2 separate regions of the Homo sapiens genome follow, and region 1 is linked to region 2. The links are contacts of gene promoters, found by promoter capture Hi-C in human tissues and cell types (Jung and others, 2019). All regions are on one chromosome and are shown on one strand. The core of a region is centred on a gene start or on the middle of the fragment in contact, and the rest is flanking DNA. Distances in the headings are between cores, read along the strand shown.

Region 1 (3,050 bases), core at 292-2,791, 180 kb after region 2:
GGGAGTGGAGGGGAGGAGACGGCGGGGGTGGGTTGTGGGGAGGAGACGGCGTCGGGGGCGGGAGGAGACGGGCAGCGGGTGGGGGGAGGAGAGGGCGGCGGGGGCGGGAGGAGAGGGCGGCGGGGGGAAGCGCGGGAGGAGAAGGCGCTGGGGCCCCTCGAAGGCCACCCCCAATGTAGTATTTACAATTCTCCACATTTCTCAACACCCCCCACCACCCCCAGCAGGGCACCTCTCTGGTGCAGAGCCTGCCCTGAGCCTGGCGATGTCCAGTCTCCCAGGGCCCCTGCTGGCTCCAGGCTATCAGCCCGGACACAGCTTGGCTGCTGGGGTGCCCTGAGAGCCAGGCCACGGGTGTCACTGCCACCCCACAATGCACACACCAGTCCCCAGACGTGAGGTTTCTGAGAAGCCCATCTGTGACTCCAGGGCAGGCAGGTGCGAGGGGCTTGTCATTGGCTGGACACTGGTCACGCCTATTGGAGGGATGCATTCAGCCACACGCATGAAGTGGGGGCATGGATGCGTGTGAGATGTGGGAAAGGGGCGTGAGGCTCCCTGAAGGCCACCCAGGTGCGGAAGGGGCTGCTGGGGGAGGCCGGCAGGAGGAGTGAGAGACTGCAGATGGCCTCACCCCACCCCCGTGCCTCAGGACCCAGAGGGGAGGTGGGAGGAGTGAGAGACTGCAGATGGCCCCCACCCCACCCCACTCAGGACCCGGAGGGGATGTGGGAGGAGAGAGAGACTGCAGATGGCCACCACCCCATCCTCCTGCCTCAGGACCCTGTACCGTGCTGCTGGGTTTTGCTGGGATTTGCTCCCCCAGTCCTGCCCCGATCTGGGGACCTACCTGAGCGGGCAGAGTTTGCTTCAGCATGCGGGGGCTTGGCGCTGTCCAGGGAGAGGGTGGGAGGTCCCCAGCCAGGGACTCACCCGCCGCCCCTTCTCCGTGTGCTCATCCCCCTGAACTGGGGCCAGGCGTCCGCAGCCTCCACTTCCCCGCAGTGGCCTTTGGGTATGGCCTGGGCATTGACTGACTCAGAAGCCGGTCATCGGGCAGCATGGGGCATCTGGGTGCCTGGCCTGCGGCCGAGCTCCCTGCAATCAGCATCTCGTTTTACTGCATGAAAGCCGGGGTGCTGAGAGCCCCCTCACTCGCCTGTCCTCAGAATTTACTGCAGAGGCCGGAGGCTCGGCACCTGGTGCAGGGTTAATGATGTTAAAATATCTGGCCAACACTTAAATAAGCAGGCAATTTTTCACCTGAGTGCAGCTCAGGCTTGGCAACCACTGCAGGTGCTGAACAGCAGCGCTTCTCCGTGGAACCCCCACTTCTCCGTGGGCACGGGCGGCTGTTGGACTGTGGTGCCCTTGGGCATGGGCCAGGCCTGACTGGGCAGAGCCATTCCGCCTGCCTGGGCCTTGCAGAGGGCGGGAGAGAGGCTGGCCCTGCCCACCCCGCCCTCCTCGGGCCCCTCCTGGAGCCCGCCCCCGCCCCAGCCCAAGCTGCCCTCTGCCGTCGGGTTGGGGAGGGGACGGTGCACTCCAGACGCCAAGGAGGTCGAGGACAGGAGGTGCTGTCGGTGTGCCTGAGGCAGGGGGTCCGCCCTGCGCCCCACCCAGCCCCAACGCCAGCCCGGACGCCGGTGGGAACCGTGTGCCTCCTGGATCCAGGGGACCTCTGAGTGACCGCAGGGCCGGGGTCCCCTGTCACCCCACGGCCAGGGCAGGGAGCGCTGGACACCGGGTCCCACCGGCCCTGCCAGTTCCTCTTCCGGGCTCGCGGGCTCCCATGGCCCTCGGGCCCAGCGTGGTGACCCCGGGGGATGGAGCCGTTCCTCAGGAGGCGGCTGGCCTTCCTGTCCTTCTTCTGGGACAAGATCTGGCCGGCGGGCGGCGAGCCGGACCATGGCACCCCCGGGTCCCTGGACCCCAACACTGACCCAGTGCCCACGCTCCCCGCCGAGCCTTGCAGCCCCTTCCCTCAGCTCTTCCTTGCGCTCTATGACTTCACGGCGCGGTGTGGCGGGGAGCTGAGTGTCCGCCGCGGGGACAGGCTCTGTGCCCTCGAAGAGGGGGGCGGCTACATCTTCGCACGCAGGCTTTCGGGCCAGCCCAGCGCCGGGCTCGTGCCCATCACCCACGTGGCCAAGGCTTCTCCTGAGACGCTCTCAGACCAACCGTGAGTACCTCGGCCTCGGAGTCAGAGCCTGCCTCGCCCCCAGCTGGGGAGTCCAGAACAACGGCAGGATTTTGAGTTGGAAATCGCATGTCCGTGGCTATCTGTTCATTCATTCGTTCATCCACGCATTCATTCAGGGACAGCTGATGGGCCCCGGGCCGGCAGGTGTGGTAGGAAAACAGCAGTGTCCGCTGTGGGCTGCCGAGAGGGAGAGGAGGCTCCGGCAGGCGTGGTCAGGTCCTGTGGGGGGGAGCATCAGCTGCACCAGCTGGACACCCAGCAGGCGGTTCCTCCAGGACCCTGCCTGGCTGGCCAGGCCCTCCCGCCCTCACACAGGGAGTCCAGTGTTCATGGATCGGTCACTGCTTGGAGGGCAGGGGCTGGGGGCTGGGAGGCACCAGATGACAGGAGCTCCAGGAGCTCTGGGTGACGGCAGGTGAGCAGGGGCTGGGGGCTGGGGGCTGAGACAGGGGCCCATGCTCCAGGAACTCTGGGTGAGGGCAGGTGAGCAGGGGCTGGGGGCTGAGACGGGCCCACGCTCCAGGAGCTCTGGGTGAAGGCAGGTGAGCAGGGGCTGGGACTGGGGGCTGAGACAGGGGCCCACGCTCCAGGAGCTCTGGGTGAGGGCAGGTGAGCAGGGGTTGCAGAGGCGCCTAGTCCAGATGCCCAGTGCGGCTGCTCTGAGCGGCTGCCTTGGTCTGGCATCCAGCTGGGCAAGGCCTGAGCCCTGGAGACCTTCGGGGTCAGCCTTGCTCAGGGCCACTTCCAGCCTCCTGGGGGCCCTTTGGCACTCACACATCGTCCTGGGGGTTGCATGGGCGGGTGAAGCCGGAGTCACAGGAAGGGGCCTTCTGAGGGGCCCCAGGCC
Region 2 (3,347 bases), core at 722-3,221:
AAACACTGAAAAGAATGATCAATTAATAATTCTATAGCCAGCTAAACTATCCTTCAAAAAATGAAGCTGAAATAAAGACATTCCCAAATAAACACTGAATTGGTTGCTAGCAAGCCTGTCCTACAAGAAATTCTAGCCGGGCGCGGTGGCTCACGCCTGTAATCCCAGCACTTTGGGAGGCCAAGGCGGGCGGATCACGAGGTCAGGAGATCAAGACCATCCTGGCTAACACGGTGAAACCCCATCTCTCCTAAAAATACAAAAAATTAGGTGGGCGTGGTGGCAGGCGCCTGTAATCCCAGCTACTCGGGAGGCTGAGGCAGGAGAATGGCGTGAACCCGGGAGGCGGAGCTCGCAGTGAGCCGAGATCGTGCCACTGCACTCCAGCCTGGGAAACAAGAGCGAGACCCCATCTCAAAAAAAAAAAAAAAAAGAAATTCTAAATGGGCTGGGCGTGGTGGCTCATGGTAATCCCAGCATTTTGGGAGGCCAGGACAGGCAGATCATGAGGTCATGAATTCGAGACCAGCCTGGCCAACATAGTGAAACCCTGTCTCTACTAAAAATACCAAAAAAATTGGCTGGGGGTGGTGGCAGGTGCCTGCAGTCTCAGCTACTTGGGAGGCTGAGGCAGGAAAATCACTCTAACCAGGGAGGCAGAGGTTGCAGTGATCTGAGACTGCACCATTGCACTCCAGCCTGGGCAACACAGTGAGACTTTGTCTCAAAAAAAAAAAAAAAAAATTCTAAATGAAGTTCTTCAGACTAAAAGGAAATGACACTAGACAGTAACTCAAATTCACAGGAAAGAAAAAGGGGCAAAAAAAAGAAAGGTAAAATATGGATGATACAAAAAAACAAGTATACTTTTTTTCTCTTTGAATTTCTTTCTTTTTTAAATAGAGATGGAGTCTCGCTATGTTGCCCAGGCTGGTGTTGAACTCCTGGCCTCAAGTGATCCTCCTGCCTTGGCCTCCCAAGGCTTTGGGATTACAGGCATGAACCACAGTGTCCAGATCTTAATTTCTTTTCTTTTCTTTTTTTTTTTTTTTTTAGGCAGAGTCTCGCTCTGTCATCTAGGCTGTAATGCAGTGGTGCGATCTTGCTCACTGCAACCTCCGCTTCCCAGGTTCAAGCGATTCTCTTGCCTCAGCCTCCCGAGTAGCTGGGATTACAGACACCCACCACCACACCCGGCTACTTTTTGTATTTTTAGTAGAGACGGGGTTTCACCATGTTGGCCAGGCTGGTCTTAAACTCCTGACCTCCGGTGATCCACTCACCTCAGCCTCCCAAAGTGCTGGGATTAGAGATAAAAGCCACCATTCCTAGTCCCTTTACTTCTGAGATAAGATCTGCACCCAGGCTGGAGTGCAGTGGCACAATCTCAGCTCACTGCAGCCTTGACTTCCCAGGCTCAAGTGATCCTCCCACCTTAGCTGGGATCCTCCCCCAAATAGCTGGGACTACAGGCGCGTGCCACCATGCCAGACTAATTTTTTGTAATTTTGGTGGAGATGGGTTTCGTCATGTTGCCCAGGCTGGTCTCCAACTCCCTGGCTCAGGCGATCTGCCCACCTCAGCCCCCAAAAGTGCTGGAGTTAAAGGCATAAGCCACTGCCTCCAGGCAACTTCTTTCAAAATACTTTTGAAGCAATAATTATAACGCTGAAGAGCTGAAGTTATAACATACATAAATGTATATATGGCAATAATACATGAAGGAGAAGAGGGGATGGAGCTATGTCAGAGGAGAAGGGAGGATGGAGCTATGTCAGAGGACAAGGGAGGATGGAACTATGTCAGAGGAGAAGGGAGGATGGAGCTATGTCAGAGGAGAAGGGAGGATGGAGCTATGTCAGAGGAGAAGGGAGGATGGAGCTATGTCAGAGGAGAAGGGAGGATGGAGCTATGTCAGAGGAGAAGGGAGGATGGAGCTATGTCAGAGGAGAAGGGAGGATGGAGCTATGCCAGAGGAGAAGGGAGGATGGAGCTGTGTCATAGGAGAAGGGAGGATGGAGCTGTGTCATAGGAGAAGGGAGGATGGAGCTGTGTCATAGGAGAAGGGAGGATGGAGCTGTGTCATAGGAGAAGGGAGGATGGAGCTGTGTCATAGGAGAAGGGAGGATGGAGCTATGCCAGAGGAGAAGGGAGGATGGAGCTGTGTCAGAGGAGAAGGGAGGATGGAGCTATGACACAGGAGAAGGGAGGATGGAGCTATGTCAGAGGAGAAGGGAGGATGGAGCTGTGTCATAGGAGAAGGGAGGATGGAGCTATGTCAGAGGAGAAGGGAGGATGGAGCTGTGTCATAGGAGAAGGGAGGATGGAGCTATGCCAGAGGAGAAGGGAGGACGTCATAGGAGGAGGGAGGATGGAACTATGTCAGAGGAAAAGGGAGGTTGGGACTGTGCTATAGGAAAATGGAGGGGGAACTATGTCATAGTACAACGGAAGTAGATCTATGTTATAGACACGTTGCCATACTTAGGCTCAGTGCAGTCGCTCACACCTGTAATCCCAGCACTTTGGGAGGCCAAGATGGGCGGATCACCTGAGGTCAGCAGTTCGAGACCAGCCTGACCAACATGGTGAAACCTCATCTCTACTAAAAATACAAAATTAGCCGGGTGTGGTGGGGGTGCCTGTAGTCCCAGCTACTCAGGAGGCTGAGGCAGGAGAATGGCGTGAACCTGGGAGGCGGAGGTTGCAGTGAGCCGAGATCACACCATTGCACTCCAGCCTGGGTGACAGAGTGAAACTCCATAAAAAAAAAAATGCTGTACTTTAAGTGTTAAGTTAGTAATAATCTGAAGTACATTGTGGTAAGTTAAAGATGTACATTGTCATCTCTAGAGCAACCACTAAGAAAATAACTTAAAACAGCATAGCTAAAAATTCAGCAACAGAGCTGGATATCACCAAAATGATGGAGTTGGCAGCTCCAAAGATCCGTCTCTCCAGCAAAGCAACTATTCTGCTGTCAAAACTGTCACAATAAACTTTTTTCTATTCAGCTGTCAAAACTGTCACAATAAACTTTTTTCTATTAAACTGTCAAAACCTCCCAATAAACTTTTCTGTAACTCTGGTGTCTACGAACCAGATGACTGCTCAATGAAGTAAGACCCTGCTAAATTTCAGGAGGACAGCTGGGCTATTTCTGCTCAGCCACTACTACCAGCTCACATGTAGCCATGGGGAAGGCAACCTGTATTTCTGATGTGGCTTGCTGGTGTCAGAAGGGATGATACAGACCTTTTCTCAAGGAATCCTGCTTATGCATTTGGATCTTTCTAGTGTCTCCCTGAAGGGCTTGCCTTTGTTTCACCCCCTCGAACTCTCTCAGG

Evidence for each region. The method cuts DNA at HindIII sites, captures the fragments that hold promoters and counts their contacts. A contact is called where the count stands out against the background at its distance.
Region 1: the fragment with the promoter of SRMS here is called in contact with a fragment that was not itself captured in region 2 in 1 of the 25 tissues and cell types used here (lymphoblastoid cells).

The regions. Positions count from the first base shown.
Region 1 is chr20:63,546,240-63,549,289 of GRCh38, reverse strand. It overlaps SRMS (src-related kinase lacking C-terminal regulatory tyrosine and N-terminal myristylation sites), which reads left to right and starts at 1,541. Exons shown (of 8, transcript NM_080823.4): 1 at 1,541-2,182. The coding sequence starts at 1,827. RefSeq lists an enhancer at 1,827-2,468. The HindIII fragment of the contact is 18,378 bases long and covers 1-1,972 here.
Region 2 is chr20:63,722,071-63,725,417 of GRCh38, reverse strand. The region is part of intron 2 of ZGPAT (zinc finger CCCH-type and G-patch domain containing); the gene reads right to left. Among named protein-coding and RNA genes, the nearest start is that of LIME1, 13 kb to the left of the region's middle. The HindIII fragment of the contact is 9,604 bases long and covers 1-3,347 here.